Linked DNA regions of Homo sapiens: region 2 is linked to region 1. Evidence: promoter capture Hi-C in 16 types of primary human blood cells and fetal thymus (Javierre and others, 2016). All regions are on one chromosome and are shown on one strand. Each heading gives the region's core, a stretch centred on a gene start or on the middle of the fragment in contact. The rest is flanking DNA. Distances are from core to core; before and after follow the strand shown. Region 1 holds the start of DACH1 (dachshund family transcription factor 1). Region 2 overlaps DACH1 (dachshund family transcription factor 1).

Region 1 (4,156 bases), core at 1,623-4,122:
GGACTGGAATTCGAATCTTTTTCGTTTCACAGCCTTCCCGGGCACTAACAGAGAAGAAGTCTTTCTCCATGGAAAAAAGAGCTAGCGCTTTTTCAACCCAATGTCCTTCTGGTCTCCTTGCTACACTTCCTTTCCACCTAAGTTTCCCTATCTCTGCGGGAGCACACACTAACTCCGCTCCTTCTCTCAATCTTCAAACTTATTTGGAGGGTACCGAAGTTTCTGCGCAAATTTTGCGCGCAGTTCCCACGTGCCCGCTTCAGGTCTTCAACTTTCCCTATTTTCTTTCTCCCGGAATCTCACTCTGAACTTTTGCCTCTGCGCTTCCTTGCAGAGAACCGTGGGGACAAAGCGGCGCTGTGAAAGGGGGTGGAATGATCATCTCTACCCCGAAACTGACAAGTTGCCCCACTCCCGCCCCCTCTTGGTAGATCCTCCCCCACTGAGCGTTCATTAGCATAAAACTGGTCTGGCTGGGGACCGGTCCCGCCGCCTCCTCCGTGCGCGCGCTTTGCTGGGCTGGGGAAGCCAAGGCACAGAGTATCAGGGCCGCTGAGCATCCCAGTGCAAAGTGTGCACCTGCTCGCTGCTTAAGCTACTAACCTTTAAGAAAAGAAAAGAGAGAGAAAGACAGAAAGAAAACACACTTTGGAGAGAAAGAGACAGAGAACTCGAAAGAGAGATCGAGAGAGAGCGCGCTCCGTGGCTTTCCTTCCTAATCTCTCCAGTTCAGCTTCCATTGAGTCTCGGGCAATCGGTCACCTCCCCCTACCGAAGAAAACCTGCTGGTTGCCCTCGCATCTGCCCCGGGGCCACCGTACCCCTTTATTTCCTTTGCACACGCACTCGCTCACACGCGGACACACGCACACATGCGCGAACACACAGACCCCTCCCCTCGGCTGGCTTCCCCTCCGGGCTTCGGAGCTCAAGTCCCCGGAGCCCATCCCCCGGGATGGACCCGGTCTCTCAGCTTCGCGGGTCATTTCCCTCCCGACCTCAAAGTGCCCTCCTCGGGTGCTGGTCCGCTCCCTCGCCTTTCCCAGCGGGGCCCTCACCCGGAGCGCGTCTCCCCGCTCCCCGAGCCCTGCGGAGCAGGTCACGACCTCCCCCCGCCCCCGGGACACCGCTCGGCGCCACAGATCAGCCCTGTCGGTGCCGGGAGGCTGGCCGTGGAACCCAGGTCCTGGGGAGCGCACGAACGCGGACAGCAGCGCTGAGAGGGGTCTCCAGGCGCCCGCGCGCCCGGGGCAGGGGGCTGTGGCTCCAGCAAAGGCGCCGTCCTCCTCCCTCTCGTCCCCTCCGCCCCGAGGCTCGGCTTTCCCACATCCCACAGCAGCCCATCCCCGGGACCCAGAGGGCAAGGGGAGGACCGGGCCGAAGAGCGAGGTCTGGGCAGGGTGAGGTGCCAACTTCTCAGGGGGTCGGGCGCGGCTGGCGAGCCCCGAGCAGGGAGAGGAGAGGGCCGCGCTCGCCGGGGCGCGCGGCTCGCGGGCGCGCAGAGCGAGCGGCGCCGGGAAAGGAGCGAGGGCAGGCGAGCAGGCTGGTGGGAAGGGGCGCGGGCGGCGGGGGCTATCCCCCCCGACTCACCTTGCGTTGGTGCAGTCATTGTAGAGGGTCTCGAAGTCCTTCCTGGAGATGAGTTTGCAGCGGTTCACTCCTGGCTGGATGGCGCCCAGTCCCCTCAGGATGCGAACTTGTTCCACATTGCACACCACCGGCGTGATCTCCAGCCGCTTCAGCTTGGTGTAGACCGTATGCAAGCCCCCCACCAAGTGCTTCAGGAACAGGTCGAAAGCCTGGGGCAGGCAGATCAGCTCGCAGCCCTCCACCGTGAAGGAAGCCACTTTGGCCCCCCTCAGATCCACCATTTTGCACTCATTATTCTGAGGGGTGTTTTCCACTGGGGACGGGGTTGAGTACACGGGTTTCCCGGGGAGGGGGCCGCAGCTGCTGCTGCTACTGCTGCTGCTGCTACTACTGCTGCTGCTGCTGCTGCTGCTACTGCTGCTGCTGCTGCTGCCGGTGCTGGCGTTGATGGGGGTGCTGGAAGCGACGCCGCCGCCAGCGCTGATGCCGCCGCCGCCGCCGCCGCTGCCGTTGCTCGCGGCCGCCAGGTTGGGGTTGCAGTTGCTGCCACCGCCGCCGCCGCCACCGCCGCCTCCGTTGCCGCTGCTGCCGCCGCCGCCTCCGCTGCCGCCGCCGCCGCCGCCGCCGCCGGTAGAGGTGACTGTGGCCGCCGCCGCCGCCGCCGAAGCGATGGGCTCCGGGCGGAACAGAGTTGGCCCAGAGGACGCCGGGGGTCCGATGGAAGGAGCCGGAGACGAAGTCGCCGAAGAGGTGGAGGTGGTGGTGCCAGAGGAGGAAGCAGACGTGGAGATTGGGGGTTGAGGGGGGACCAGCTGGGTCGGAGGGATCAAAGCCGCCGGCACTGCCATGGTCACATATAAGGGGAAACAGACGGAGGAGAAGCGAGAGGAAAAGTTGCCACACACCCCCGGGAGGGGAAGGGGAAAAAAGGGGGGAGAAGGAGCGAGGGGGGCAACAACAACTCCGGGAGAGAACGAGAAGGAGAAAGGGAGAGAAGGGGGAGAAAAGGAGGTGAAGGTAATAAAGAGCGAGCGCAAGAGGGGCGAGCACGAGAGGCGCTCTGGAGAGGAACGCACAAAAGTGTCCCGCAAGTCGAAATGCGAGTCCTCTCCGGGGGCTGGGATCGAGGGCTGGTTTGGGGGTGGGGGTGGGGCGGGGAGGGTCGGCTGTTGTTGTGTGGGTCTCGCTCTAGCACAAAGTTAAGGATGAAGGTGAAAAGGAGGAGGTTTGAAGGACTTGGGCTCTCCCTGGCAAGTACATTGATCAAAGATTGAGAGGGGAATGACAGAGAGAAAATGAGCTGAAAAGTGCAGGCTGCCGGCTGGACGAGTTGTTGTTGTCACACGGTGCAGAGGGGAGGAGCTCCGGAAACTTGAAATACCCTTTGAAGCCGCAAAAACCTCACTCACTAGTATTAACCCAAATTATCCAACCAGGAACTCGGAGCAGAGACTCCGAGAGCGCGAGACACTGGAGAGGGAGCGTGCGAGGAAAGGAGGAGGGGAGGGGGAGGATACGGAAAGAAACTGTGGGAGGGACGGAGAGGAAAAGCCGGGGACACAGAAGTGGCGATCGGAAAAGGAGAGGGAGATCATCTACTTCTCTTCTACTACTACCGTTAGATTGCATGTCTCACATTCCATTTCGTCCGCGGGGACTGGTAATTTTTTCCAAAGCTTCTAAACAATCGCCCGCCAACTTAAAGAGGAGCCTGAGCGCGCCGAGCTCTCTCCTTCCAGGATTTAGGATCCATCTCCACGCGTTTTGGCAATGAGCTAGAAACGAAAACACAGCCCCCACTTCACGATTATTCAGAAATTATTTTGAGGAAAATTCACATGTAAGCAAAGCGTAATGTTCTTTTGCATCTGATTGTTTATTTCTCTACTAAATTATTTATTTATATAAAGATAGTGAAAATTCCAGGACAGTTTTCAAGTGGTGAGAAGAAAGTCAGTCCGAAATCGCTTAAGAATAATGGAAAGCTCTGTATTCAATTCCATATTTCCTAATAGGTTGTGGAAAGAAATGCTTGCCTTGATGTGGATGATTTAGAATAACTTCACTGTCTCCCCAAAAGCCAGTCAGAAATACCTGTTAAACCTAGAGCTATCAAGGAGATAAGGTATCCTTGAAGATTTAGAAAGTGGAAAAAGGGTTTTCTTACCCAAAACTCTATAATTAATTCACCTGTCTTACACAGTAACCAACTATCCTCATGTCCTTTAAGACCCAAAGCCAATTGCTAATGTGTTTTTTGGACAACACAATAGTTTTTTTTTTTTTTTTTTCATGTTTGAAAAGTGCTGCTGTAGTTTTGGAAAGTCCTTTTCAATTTGTCAGTAAATATATGTTTTGTAAATAATGGGAAGAACAAAAACAAAGCTCACTAGTTGACTTGTAAAGACTTGGGTAGCTGTGCTTAAAACAACATGAGGCTGAGTTTAGACTGACTCTATTCCTCCTTTCCTTCCTCTTTCCTTTTCTTTTCTTTTCTAACTTGTTGCACTGAAGTATTTATTCAAGGATTTTTGACTAACATATCATTTGAATATGGGTCAAATCT
Region 2 (4,010 bases), core at 6-2,505, 160 kb before region 1:
TATATAAAGAGTGATCCATTGTGTTTGGAGATAATGCTGTTCAAGATATAAGGTGTAGGACAGGACCAAAAATTATCAAACAGCTAAGTACAGAGTGAATATTGTCAAGGTAGACTGTCATAAATCTTGGACTTCGTTTTCCTCTAGTAATAATATTTTGTGTTAAGATTTTTATCTTTATTTATTCAATGACTCTGGGTTGGGAAAAAGAATAAAGTCCACAACCAGAAACTAGAAAATGCTCTAAAGCGCTATTTAGGGACCGAAATGTTGTTGGCTACAACTCTCTCAGCACATTGGGCTTCACTTGAAGAAACTAACAAACCTGTCTGCAAATGAGCACTTGCTTATAAGTAGATAAGGACTGCTGAAGTGTATGGAAGACAGTGGTTTAACATCATTTAGAACTCATCATTAAAAAATCATTAAACATCATTAAAAATGAATTTATTCAAAAAATGTTTTATGGATTTGAATTCTTCATTGAATTCACATAGCTCAAGCCTATCAATGAATGTATAGGCAGATAGGCAATTTGTTAGCTACCAAAGAAACTCCTCCAATCCTTCCATAGCAAAAACTTGGGAAAAGTTATTTTCTGATGTTAAAGAGCCAAAAGACTTTGGAATTACCACTTAGATCTCTATATGAAAAGTCTTTCTTTTTTTTTTTAGAATCAAGTAAATCAAGTCTTATCTCTTCTGAGCATGTCATGAAGTCTCCATTAAAACAATTAGTAATTATCATATGGTTCATACAAATTCTGTAAGTGTGCTTCTCTATTCATATCTCCTTTTCCCTTTTCTCCATAGCACACTTGTTCAACAACTAACCTTCAATTTATATCCTTTTTCTTCTGTACCCTTGTACAATAGCATATATTTATTTTTCTTTTTAGAAACTATCAGATATTTTTTCTTATCAATCAAGAAATCTAGTGATCAAAACCTTGTCATCATAAATATTCTCTACCTTTACCACCAGCTTCAAGTCATGTAAAAATTCAGTCAGAATAGGATATTTTCTAATGCGAATGTTACAGAACTCACAATAGAACCCTATATCATCTTAGAGTTTTTAAGTGGCATTTTATTATGTACAACTTCCTTGATTTTCTATAAAGAATCAGGACAACAAAAGGGATAAAAACATATTATTAATTATATTATTAATCTTTATATTAATTAAAACATATTATTAGCCTTTCATCCATTTAAGAACTTAGTATTAATTGAAATCTATTGGGTAGCATATTTATATTTTTTACAGTGAGATGTATTTTTAATAACAGCCTGCTTAATTGAAATCCCAACAAAGATAGCATATTTGCAAATATTCAGATTTGAAATAATCAAAACAATAAGACATAATTTCCCAGTTTGTTTGCTATTTATTTTTAATTATCTGAAATTTAGCAAAAACATGTGATGTGATTACTTGGACATATTCCATTCTTTTCAAGCACTGGCTTGATACAAAAATAAAATTGATTTCTTCACGAATATGAACTATCATGTTTTCTTGATAATTTCACTCACCTAAATTCTTTCAGAATAATTCTCTTGGCTTGTGGTAATTTTTTTCACTACACAATTTTATTCTATATCTATTTTTTTCAGACCAAAATATGCATTCTTATTTGAAGTATTATATAAAGTTGAAAAATGTTAAAATGCATTAATTCTCATATTAAAGTCAAGTTAATACTGTATGTCCTAGAATTATTCTTTCAACTCTATTTCCAACTGAATTCTCACATTTATAATGAATCTGCCTCGGTACAGTAAGAGTTTACTGTCGCTATTTAAACTGTTTTAAAGACCGTATTGATAAACTATGATTTTCATTTTAATATATCTAAAAACTTTATTTCACAAATTATTTGATATTAAAGTCTTAGATAAACACACATTTGAATGTTTTTATTTCCCATAGTCATCTTCACATTTAATTTAATACATTTAGTGAGTATCTCTTCCTGTGAGGAAATTGACTAGGTCAAAGGACTTGAAAGAACATTAAGACAGGTCTGTCCCCTCATGGAACTTGCAAGCTCTTGGGGTGACAGGCACATACATACACATGCAGTAAGCATGCTGTGTAAATGCAACATAATAAAGATGTGAACTACATGCTATGGGAGCATTTCTTGAGGAAGTCTCAGCAGGGCATGCAACCTGTGCAGCTGCACAAGTCACGTGCTTGGAAGAGTTTCTTCTGCTGGATTTAATGCTCTGCTGTCAGCATCTTGAATTCTTACCATTTTAAAATAAGGGACCCTACATTTGTATTTTGCACTGGGCTTGTCCTGAAAGTGAGCCTGTGTACACGGTGCCCAAATGCAGATGGTGGGCTTTGGGGAAGGAGTAGCCCTGAGCCTCCCTGAACACTTGGTCATGAAAGTGAACTGGAATTTGGCAAGGGAAAAGAAAGTAAGGAGAGGCAAATAATCCCAGAGAACAGAAGCAGAACAAAGGCATGACATAATATTTGTTTAGACGTAATAATTAGGCTCTTACATCTAGAGAAGATGAAATTAAGAGAGGATAATTTGTAATCAGATTTCCAAGGGCCTTAAAAGCCTACCTAGATTTTATTTATAAGAAAAGTAATAACTTTAAGCAAGGAAATGGAATGAAATGTAAATTGGTGTAAACGTAAAGTTGGAGAAAAAGACTAGAGGGTGGCATCTTTAATAGAAGATAATGGCAGAAATCTAGATTTAAAAATAACAGGCTGTAGGAGAACAATGAAAGGGAGGATGAAGAGATGGGTAAGTGAGCCATACTCAAGGGCACATGGTGTTTCAAAAACACCTCCCACTATTTGGCTTTTATCCTTGAAAGAGAGCTCATAAGAAAGTTTCACCAGGCCCACTGAAGTGGAAAAGCATAATAATATACTTGGTGAGTAATCTAACTTCTTTTTCTCCAAAGGCTAGTAATCACCTATAAATTAAAATAAAGCACTTAAGTTTTATAGCAAAAAACAAACAAACTGGCGATTTTCACTAAAACCAAAAATGAAAAAAAAAAAAAGTAAAAACAAAATAAAAACCCTGATTAAGGGTGCATTTGAAATATATAGTCTCTTCTGCATGGCTTATTCCTGTGCCTCGATCTATAACAACAAAGCAATCAACAAGCAAACCATATAGTCAAATTAAAGTCTGGTATTAAAAGTAAGCTTGACTTGATTGAATCAAAGCAGTTCATTTATTAAGTTTTTCACTTCTCAACTTAATTCCTTCAAAATAGGAATATGACCATATTAACTTAGTAAATTATTATTTTAAAGAGAGGATTATCTGAAATCAGTATAATTTCATTTTTTCAAATACAGATCTGGAGAAAGAGATTGCATGTTTTATTTTGGGCTAAAATACTTAGTTGAAAACTATTTAATAAAACATTTGAATAGAAGTTTTCTGGTGTTTCCCATATCAAACTGCTACCCTTTCTTGTATCCAATCTCATCAATACCATTTATGAAACTGAAGAATATATTAACATATAATATATTATGAAGAATATATCTAAGTGTAATAACTGCAAAATAATCTTCGTTGAAGATTTAAATAGCCTACAGTGATTCTTGTAATATGGTTTGCAAAACATTCAGATAAGCAAGCTAATATCTTCCAAGTATTGTTTGTTACCAACTTTTCTACATCCAATTCTTCTCTAAATGTTCTTAAAATGTTGCTTATGATTATTACTTTGTCAATAAGCTTTCTCAGGGTTTCCAAGTTTTTTGTTGTTTTTTTTTTTTTTTTTTGAGACGGAGTCTCGCTCTGTCGCCCAAGCTGGAGTGCAGTGGCGCGATCTCGGCTCACTGCAAGCTCAGCCTCCCGGGTTCACGCCATTCTCCTGCCTCAGCCTCCCGAGTAGCTGGGACTACAGGCGCCCGCCACCATGCCCGACTAATTTTTTTGTATTTTTAGTAGAGACGGGGTTTCACCATGTTAGCCAGGATGGTCTCGATCTCCTGACCTCATGATCCTCCTGCCT

The links. The method cuts DNA at HindIII sites, captures the fragments that hold promoters and counts their contacts. A CHiCAGO score of 5 or more calls a contact.
Region 2: a fragment that was not itself captured here is called in contact with the fragment with the promoter of DACH1 in region 1 in 1 of 17 cell types (monocytes); the score reaches 5.1 in monocytes.

What each region holds. Positions count from the first base shown.
Region 1 is chr13:71,864,332-71,868,487 of GRCh38, forward strand. It overlaps DACH1 (dachshund family transcription factor 1), which reads right to left and starts at 2,873. Exons shown (of 11, transcript NM_080759.6): 1 at 1,591-2,873. The coding sequence starts at 2,438. The HindIII fragment of the contact is 4,223 bases long and covers 1-3,264 here.
Region 2 is chr13:71,705,094-71,709,103 of GRCh38, forward strand. All of the region lies in intron 1 of DACH1 (dachshund family transcription factor 1), which reads right to left. Among named protein-coding and RNA genes, the nearest start is that of DACH1, 160 kb to the right of the region's middle. The HindIII fragment of the contact is 3,858 bases long and covers 1-3,184 here.